Regions from separate parts of the Homo sapiens genome. Here region 1 is linked to region 2. Evidence: promoter capture Hi-C in human tissues and cell types (Jung and others, 2019). All regions are on one chromosome and are shown on one strand. The core of a region is centred on a gene start or on the middle of the fragment in contact, and the rest is flanking DNA. Distances in the headings are between cores, read along the strand shown. Region 1 has its middle 21 kb from the start of BPIFA3. Region 2 holds the start of BPIFA1 (BPI fold containing family A member 1).

Region 1 (4,427 bases), core at 85-2,584, 40 kb before region 2:
ACTGTCAGAACCAGGGAGGGATAAAAAGGAACTTTAATTGCAAATCCAAAATTAACTTCTATTTAGTGGCACTAGGCTAAACAATTTTCAAAATGCTTCCTGAATTCTCCTAGTAACCTTTTTGAGTGAGATGCAGATTAAAGTATAAAAAACTAAAAGACGGGAGAGCCAGGTGCTAGCCACTAACTACAGCTGGCCTTAGGAAAACTTAACCCTGATCCGAGCCTCAGTGTGCCATCTGTAAAATGGGTATTGGGCCAGGTGCGGTGGCTTATGCCTGTAATCCCAGCACTTTGGGAGGCGGAGGTGGGAGGATCACGAGGTCAGGAGTTTGAGATCAGCCTGGCCAATATGGTGAAACCTGTCTCTACTAAAAACACAAAAAGTAGCTGGGCATGATGGAGCACACCTGTAGTCCCAGCTACTCGGGAGGTTGAGGCAGGAGAATCGCTTGAACCCAGGAGGCAGAGGTTGCAGTGAACCGAGATCGTGCCACTGACTCCAGCCTGGGTGACAGAGCAAGACTCCATCTCAAAAAAAAAAAATGGGTGTTGGGTGGGTAAGAATGAGTCCAAATGACTCCTTTGCTTCCCCCCTATCTCCTTTAGCTCCATAGAGAACCTCTCAGAGTGACCCTGAAGCTGACTGTACTTACCTGGTATCCCACGGGTACTGCCCCAAGATGCTGAAGGTCTCGGGCCTCCTTATCCTCTGTTGGTTTCTTGCCCTGTTGTCTGCTCAATATTTGAATATTTGACTTGCCTGTGGGTTTATTATATCATATATTTTAATTTCTTGGCCTTTAGTCCCTTGGTCATTTTTTAAGCATGCATGCCTTGTAAATTTTTATTGGATGCTGAACATGGTGGTGAAATGACATTATCTTTTTTCCAGAAACGAAGATGGCAGAAAGATAGAGCAGAAATGGATCATGACCCTGCCTAGGCTTAGCTTTGTGTTTTATTAAGTAGAACTATTTTGGTCTTGTTCTTACTTTTAGAGGGAGACTATTTCTAGGGTGTGGCCCTTTCTCCTAGAGCACAGTGCTTTATGTCTTCACTGAGAGCTTAAGATGTGTACCAAGGTTCCTCCCATCAAAGGGGCCCCACCTCAAACTAGCGCTTCCTTCCCCAGCATCACACAGTGGATGTGCTGATGTCTCTGTTCAGCTTTTTAACTTTCACCTGCTATTTTCTGCCACATGGCTGAGAGTCCCACACTGCTAGGGTGCAGCTTAAAAAGCTGAGATTTCAAGGCTCCTTCCCTGGGGAACTTCCTCTTTGGGATTTTTGCCCCTCAAGTCCCAGCCACTCTGGTAGCCCCAAATTCCAACTTCTGTCCCCTCATCCCTGTAAGACTAGCTCTTTTTGCTTGGACCCTGGTTGACATGTTGGAAAATGACCTCAGGCAAAAGCTGGGTGAATATGGAGCCCGCCTTGAATGATGCCTCTTTCTCAAGAATCACGGGGTTTCAAATTGTGCCCATGTAGTTGCTCATGGATGTCCTCCTTTGTTTTTACAGATTTCCATCTCTTATAGTTGACTTTAATTGGGAGTGTTAGTCTGATGCAAGATACTCTGTCATGATCAAAACCAGAACTCTGCAGATGGAACTTGAACTTAGATTTCATAGGGACTGTGCAACCCCTCATTTGGGGTTCAGGGATAGGGTGAGAAGGATGAACACAGAGAATGCTTCGATACTTATAAAAACAGGCTGGGCGCGGTGGCTCACGCCTGTAATCCCAGTACTTTGGGAGGCTGACGCGGGCAGATTACCTGAGCTTAGGAGTTCACGACCAGCCTGGGCAACACGGTGAAACCCCGTCTCTACTAAAATTAAAAAAAAAAAATTAGTCGGGTGTGGTGGCTTGCGCAGAGGTTGCAGTGAGCTGAGATTGCGCCACTGCACTCCAGCCTTGGTGACAGAGCGAAACTCCATCTCAAAAACAAAACAAAACAAGACACCACACACACACACATAAACACACAAACAAACAAACACACAAAACAAACAAACAAATAAAACACACACACAAACAAACAAAAAGAACTTCAGGGTTGGTTATTCCTAGAAAATGCTTCGTGGGTTATAATGTGGCAGGTAAATGCAGAAAAACACCTAAGGATATTCCTGCCGGTGCCATCTGGGGTAAAAACATGAAAATAGCCCAAAAGAGGAGACATTCCATGAACATCAGTCAATACATACCTTAGAAAATTCTGCAGACAAGGAGGTAGACAGTCCTGATGTACTGCTACTTGAATAAATGCTTCTGTAGAAGCATGACAGGCCAATCCTTGTTTCTCATCATGTTACATGAATGCACGCCTATGGAAAGAAAAACTTCCAAAAAAAGATACAACAGAAGTTATCTCTGTGAACTGATTTTTATTTACTTTTTTCTCTTTGTGCATATCTTCACTTTCTAATTTTTCTACTTGCCTAAAAACAGATCACCCAAATTAAAATGTTAAGCCAGGCCAGTTGCGGTGGCTCACGCCTGTAATCCTAGCACTTTGGGAGGCCAAGTCGGATGGATCACCTGAGGTCAGGAGTTCGAAACCAGCCTGGCCAACATGGTGAAACCCCGTCTCTACCAAAAATATGAAAAAATTAGCTGAGCGTGGTGGTGGATGCCTGTGATCCCAGCTACTTGGGAGGCGAGGCAGGAGAATTGCTTGATACCAAGAGGCGGAGGTTGCAGTGAGCCGAGATCACACCACACCGCACTCCAGCCTGGGAAACAGAGTGAAACTCTGTCTCAAAATAAATAAATAAATAAATAAAATAAAATAAAATGCTAAACCAAATGGGTTATGAATTTACATGAGAATAGTGACCAGGGACTGGGCTGAGAGTCTGCTTGGAATCTGTCAAGTGTCGAAGGAGAGAATCGGTCCCTACCAGCCTTTACCTGTTAGTCTCAGGTCCTAATGGGACCATTTGCACTGGCATTTGGTTGAAGTCCCAGGAAGCCACACGAACATCTTCATGCACCTCCTTTCCAGGAGGTGTGGAGGGTGTGTCAAGATCCCGAGGGCCACTCCTAGCCCAGGGAGTGTGCCATTCAAGCGGGCACAGTAAATGGTCCTACAGTGTCCACATACTCCAGCCCTGGTCCCTCAGCCTGGGCCCTTCTTGTCTGTGCTGTGGAGCCTACTCTCTCCCATCAGCTCAGGGAGGTAAGCCCTTGAAAATGTCAAGTGAAAATCATGATCATAATGATGCATTAGTACAGTGGTGACCATTTGTGAAGCACTTACAATGTGCAAGGTACTGTGCTAAGTGCTTACGACAAGAGCAAGAGGAAGGTATGAGTTTGGATCCTCTGCATCTTCCAGATGAGGAAAGCCTAAGGTATCCAGCAAGTAGGTGGCAGAGCTGGGATTCCATCCCAGGTCTGTCTGTCTCTGAAGCCAGGGCATATCACCACCACCATTTTGCTGTAAAATGAGGATAGTGTGTCCTGCATAACATCGTGTGGTGAAGCAACTTGCACTAAATCCCACAATCCCACAGCTGCTAACAGGTGGGGGTCTTCAGAGACCATTGTCATAACTCTAACATTATGCAGCCTCTCGCAGCAGCCATGAGCAGCCCTGCTGGGGAAGGCAGTGTCCCTGCGGGAAAAACCGTATGTCCAGCTTTTGGGCATAAATACAGGTTGTGTGGCCTTGGGCAAGTGACTTCATCTCTTGGACCCTCCCTTTCTTGCTCTAAACTATGAGGAAAAGCAGGTCCCTCCCTGAGCCTCAGTAGACCCATCTGTAAAATGGACATAGGTGAATGGGTCCATATGAGTTCTGTGGCCACTTCAGATCTGAGCTCTGGGAAGACCCTCTGAGAAAGTGTCCTTGCAAATGACCTCTTTGCCCTGATCCTCCACAGGGACCTGACCGAAGATGCTGAATGTCTCCGGCCTCTTTGTTCTCCTCTGTGGGCTGCTTGTCTCATCCTCTGCACAGGAGGTCCTGGCTGGAGTTTCTTCCCAGCTCCTTAATGGTGAGACTGTCCTGCTTTGGGTCATGCAGAACCCTGAGCCAATGCCAGTTAAGTTCTCATTAGCAAAGTACCTGGGACACAATGAACACTATTAATTATTAGCCGTCCTGACTGCAACATCGTTTAATCCTCATTTTCCGAGCACCCCCTCTTTCCTGTCTCCTTGCTGTGCTTTATCTATCAAGACCCACCATCAAAGGAACCAGCTCTATATGGACTGGTCCCTGTCGCAGCCTTTGTACCTGCTGTTTCCTCTGCCTGGGACACTCTTCCCCTACCTGTCAACCTAGCTGCCTCCCTTCCTTCAGGTCTCTGCTCAAATGCCACATTTGCAGAAAGCCCTTCCTTGACCTCCTGCGTAAATGAATCCCTCACCCTGCCTTTTGTTTTTTCATCATAGGATGGACTGATATCTAGCGGC
Region 2 (4,436 bases), core at 1,161-3,660:
CAGCCAAAAATAGGGACAGGCAGCCTCCTTGGTACAAACAAAGCCCCTAGCACAGACATGAAACCCCAGGGGGAAATTGGGACATTTCTGTTCCTGAGCAAAATGGCATTTGAAATGGTAAAGTATAGATAAATCAGAAAGATGTGTGGACGCCTGAGTTTATGAACTGTGATTCATACCAGCTCCCCAGACATCATCTCCCCATAGCCCTGTGAGGCAGATTTTATGCTCCCCATTTTACAGGTGAGGAAACTGAATGAAGTTCAGGGAACTGGACTGACTTGCCCAGGGTCGTAGGATTTGAACCAGGGCTGTTTGAGCCCAAATTCACCCACTTTCTGCTGCAATACAGACACAGCCTCCCGGCCTCAAACCAGAGGGTGTAAGCTTTCATTAACTGGCTGCACAAACTCTACTAATTCCTTGCCTTATCTGCCTCAGTTTCCCCACAAGGATAGTAGCAACCTGACCCAACCCACAAGAGTTATACGATGGGACCACTGTGAGGATGATTGCCATGTACAAGATGTGGGCAGAGTCCAGCAAGTACCTTGAATGGATAATTAAGTTCAAAGCCATGGCCCCAAACCCTTGGGGGCACCACCCAGACTCTGGAGAGCAGTGGAGCAGGCCAGTGAAGGCCTAGTGTGAGGGAGGCAGTGTGGCCCACTGATTAGCAGGGACTCAGACAGACACAGAGGGTGGCAGGGTCAATTGACTCCAACACTCACTCGCTGTGTGTCCCCAGGAAGCAGTCACCCTTTCTGATCCTCAGCCTCCTCATCCAATGTATGAGAGACAACAATACCAACCACTCCTGAAGAAGATGAGGTTCAAATATGGAGAGCACCTGGCATGCAGTCAGTGCTTAATAAAAGCACATTTATTCCTTCTCTCTCCACTTTTGCTTATAAGGTGTTAGGTTTTGCAGGGTAAGAGCTGCGCTCACTGGTCCAGGACCTTGGCCTTCCTGTGTCTTCACTTTTTCATCTGCTGAACAGACTCCAAGGGCCCCAGTGGTGGGGATAAATAAATGCCTGATTACTCCATTTAGGGAAAGGTAGAAGAAAGGGTAGGATAGAGACCAGGATGCCAAAGGATCCCTCAGGCCTGGGAACCTGGAAAGACTTTTCCAGGACCTAAAAGAGAAGCGGCGGGGCACTGTGGCTCACGCCTGTAATCCCAGCACTTTGGGAGGCTGAGATAGGTGGATCACCTGAGGTCAGGAGTTCGAGGACAGCCTGGCCAACATGGTGAAACCCCATCTCTACTAAAAATACAAAAACTTTGCCAGGCATGGTGGCGCTCGCCTGTAGTCCCAGCTGCTCAGGAGGCTGAGGCAGGAGAATCACTTGAACCCGGGAGGTGGAGGTTGTCATGAGCTGAGATCACACCACTGCACTCTAGCCTGGGCGACAGAGTAAGACTGTCTCAAAAAATAAAATAAAATAAAAATTAAGTGAAAATTTAAAAAATAAAAAGGGACGCATGAAAGTGTAAAGTTCACAGGTGGGGAAATCAAAATGGCCAGCAAGTGTTGGGAGGCACCTTCATCTCTCAGTGCAGTGATTCGGGGAAAGGACCTGAATGTGGATGTCTCACCCCAGGCAAGCACTGCATCTCTGGACAACTTGCCTCACACTCAGCCTCAGTTTCCCCCTTATAGAATAGGAGTACAGGGTTGTGAGGATTTTGTGAGATGCTGCCTGTGAACACCATGGCAGGCCAGGCATACAGCAGGAGCTCGGCCAGTGTCTGCTGTTGGCGTTGTTTTTGTTGTTTTCATTCTCCAGTCAGTTGCATTCTAACTCTGCTGCATCCTCTCTGGGTCTTTCAGCACTTGTCCCCACTGGATCTCAGTTTCCTCCTCTATAAAAGAGGAGGAGTCACCTCTCCCTCTCAGGGTTCTTGTGAGGACAGAGAGCTCCTGACGTGCAATAGGGGCTCTGAAAACAGGAGACCCTTGCCCTGGAATGGAGACGCACCCCAGATGTAGGATGCAGTGTGACTCTTTTGACATTTTAGGAGAAAGAATCCTCCAACTGGAGCAAAAAAATTAGAGCAGGAGAGGAAAGGGGCCAAGAGATGAGACTGAGGTCCCTTCCTGGGCTCTGTCTGGCTGCTCCTTTCAATGCTCCAAGCTACCTTGGGAGCGTGGGTCCCCAACCTTGGCTCCGCTCAGGAAACCATAAAGTCTTGAGTAACATCCCATCTCAGGTTTTTCTCTGTTTATCTTGTTGACCAAATAGCTTAACTGTCTCACCTGCTAATGTGATTGGCAATTATTTACTTTGGAGAGCCCTGAAAGACACTGTCAGATTGCAGAATTCTCAATTATCTAGAAACCCATCACCCAACACATGCTTCCTCGTCCCCATACTATAAAAGAGGCTGACTCCTCGGCAGAAGTGAGTGGGGGAGAGAGAGGAGACCAGGACAGCTGCTGAGACCTCTAAGAAGTCCAGGTAAGAGCCATCCATTCTGTGGCCCCTCTGCTACCCTTAACGGCAGGGATCTCAGGCTCCTGCCCTGTGGGGCAGTGAGTGATCTTGATCACTCACTGGGGGCTGTGCAAGAGAAACAGACCTGGCCAATGTCAGGGATGTGGGGATGGCCATTTGCTCTGCTGTCCTAAGAGACCAGTAACATTGATATAGAAATGGGCACTATTAATGCCGTAAATGAAAGCCTCTAAGGCATAAGTTTTAGCTTGAGGTTACCAATGTGGATACAGATGATCCAAAAACCTCCTAAAATTCTTCACCCAATTTTATACATTTTGATGCATTTTTTCTGAGACTAGGATCTTTAGCTTCCATTGGATTCATAAAGGGTCTGTTGCCCAAAAGAGATTCAGAGGCTGTGGTCAAAGTTACCTCCCTAAGAAGGGCACAACTGGCTCTTTGGACCAAAGACCTTTCATTTCCAGCCTTCCACCACAAGGATGGAGCTTTAGCTGAGTCAGCCAATAGATGGAATTTTGCACAAAGTCACCAGTTGTCTCCAAATTGTAGGTACTAGTGCTGGCTCTGGACAACTCTGCTGGCTGCCAAATAGACCTGTGAGAGGTCTGCAAGCCAAACCTCAGGGGTTGACCGGAATTCCATCCAGGGCAGCTTGAAGGAGAAGAGAAAGGTGTCAAAATGATAGAATGCATGTTTGTGTGTTGGGTGAGGGGAGGGTTGGGAGACCTGCCTTCAACCACAGCTCTGCCATCAATTTATTGTATGACCTTGGGAAAGTCACTACCCCTCTTTGGTCTCCTGGTTCTTCTCATGCAATGAAGACTTTGATGGCCCCAGGAATTCCCCAACAAAGGTCTACATGAGATGGTGGCTGTGGCCATGCGACCCCTGTATTGTGTGACTTTCAAGGGCATCCACCAACCATCATGGCCTGAGCTCAGGCCAAAGGACTGAACAGGGATGATCTAAAACAGTTCAATTCTTCAGCACTTGCACGTTTAACCCTTCTCATTTGCTTTGTCTGAAGAGCAGCAATGATTCAAACCATTGAAGCAAGCCCGATTGGAGAATAAATCTGATGGTTACTTAATTTAACCGAGGGTTCACCTGGCTCTAGCTTCTAATCCTCTGTCCACCGTGTACTTGTGACCTTGGGGAAAGTTACCCACACTCGGTAGTACACAAGTGGGTTTCAAGAAGGGATGGGAGTATATTTGAAACTCCCAACTGCAAACTCACTTGACCTCTGTGAGCCTTGGTTTCTCCTACTGGAAAATCAGACAAGTGAACTGTGGGCAAGATGGAGTGAGGTGAGGCTGGGATTCTTGGCAAGAAGGAAAAAAACCCTCTTCTTTGGAATGTGGTGGAGTGGGGCTGTCTCCTTTTTAGGCCCCTGATCAGTGGTCCTCACCTGTGCAATGCAGGTAACAGGTGCCCATGTCTTAGGGTTGTGATGAAGATGAAATTGTGTAAAGTGGTCAGCCTGTTGCCTGGCAAAGAGAAATTGTTCAGCAGTATTAGCTATTACTAGTGACCCCCTGGTGTTCTGGGGAGCAAACAACCCCACCCCCCAGGTGTCAGGGCAGGTGGTGGATAAATTCCTCTCTGATACCCATGCCATGTTGGACTTGTCATTCTGGCCACAGATACTAAGAGCAAAGATGTTTCAAACTGGGGGCCTCATTGTCTTCTACGGGCTGTTAGCCCAGACCATGGCCCAGTTTGGAGGCCTGCCCGTGCCCCTGGACCAGACCCTGCCCTTGAATGTGAATCCAGCCCTGCCCTTGAGTCCCACAGGTCTTGCAGGAAGCTTGACAAATGGTGAGTTTTCAGGGGTGTATGTGTGCATGTGTGTGTGTGTGTGTGTGTGTGTGTGTGTGTGTGTGTGTGTGTGTGTGTGTCCAACCCTGCAAAGTGGGGAGGGACAGGGCTGGATGGGGGAGGGGGCCTGAGGATCTGGAATTGTCAGAT

The links. The method cuts DNA at HindIII sites, captures the fragments that hold promoters and counts their contacts. A contact is called where the count stands out against the background at its distance.
Region 1: a contact is called between a fragment that was not itself captured here and the fragment with the promoter of BPIFA1 in region 2, in 1 of the 25 tissues and cell types used here (spleen).

What each region holds. Positions count from the first base shown.
Region 1 is chr20:33,194,306-33,198,732 of GRCh38, forward strand. It overlaps the pseudogene BPIFA4P. Among named protein-coding and RNA genes, the nearest start is that of BPIFA3, 21 kb to the right of the region's middle. The HindIII fragment of the contact is 4,694 bases long and covers 1-3,681 here.
Region 2 is chr20:33,233,586-33,238,021 of GRCh38, forward strand. BPIFA1 (BPI fold containing family A member 1) reads left to right here and starts at 2,411. Exons shown (of 9, transcript NM_130852.3): 1 at 2,411-2,465; 2 at 4,112-4,286. The coding sequence starts at 4,127. The HindIII fragment of the contact is 6,820 bases long and covers 1-4,436 here.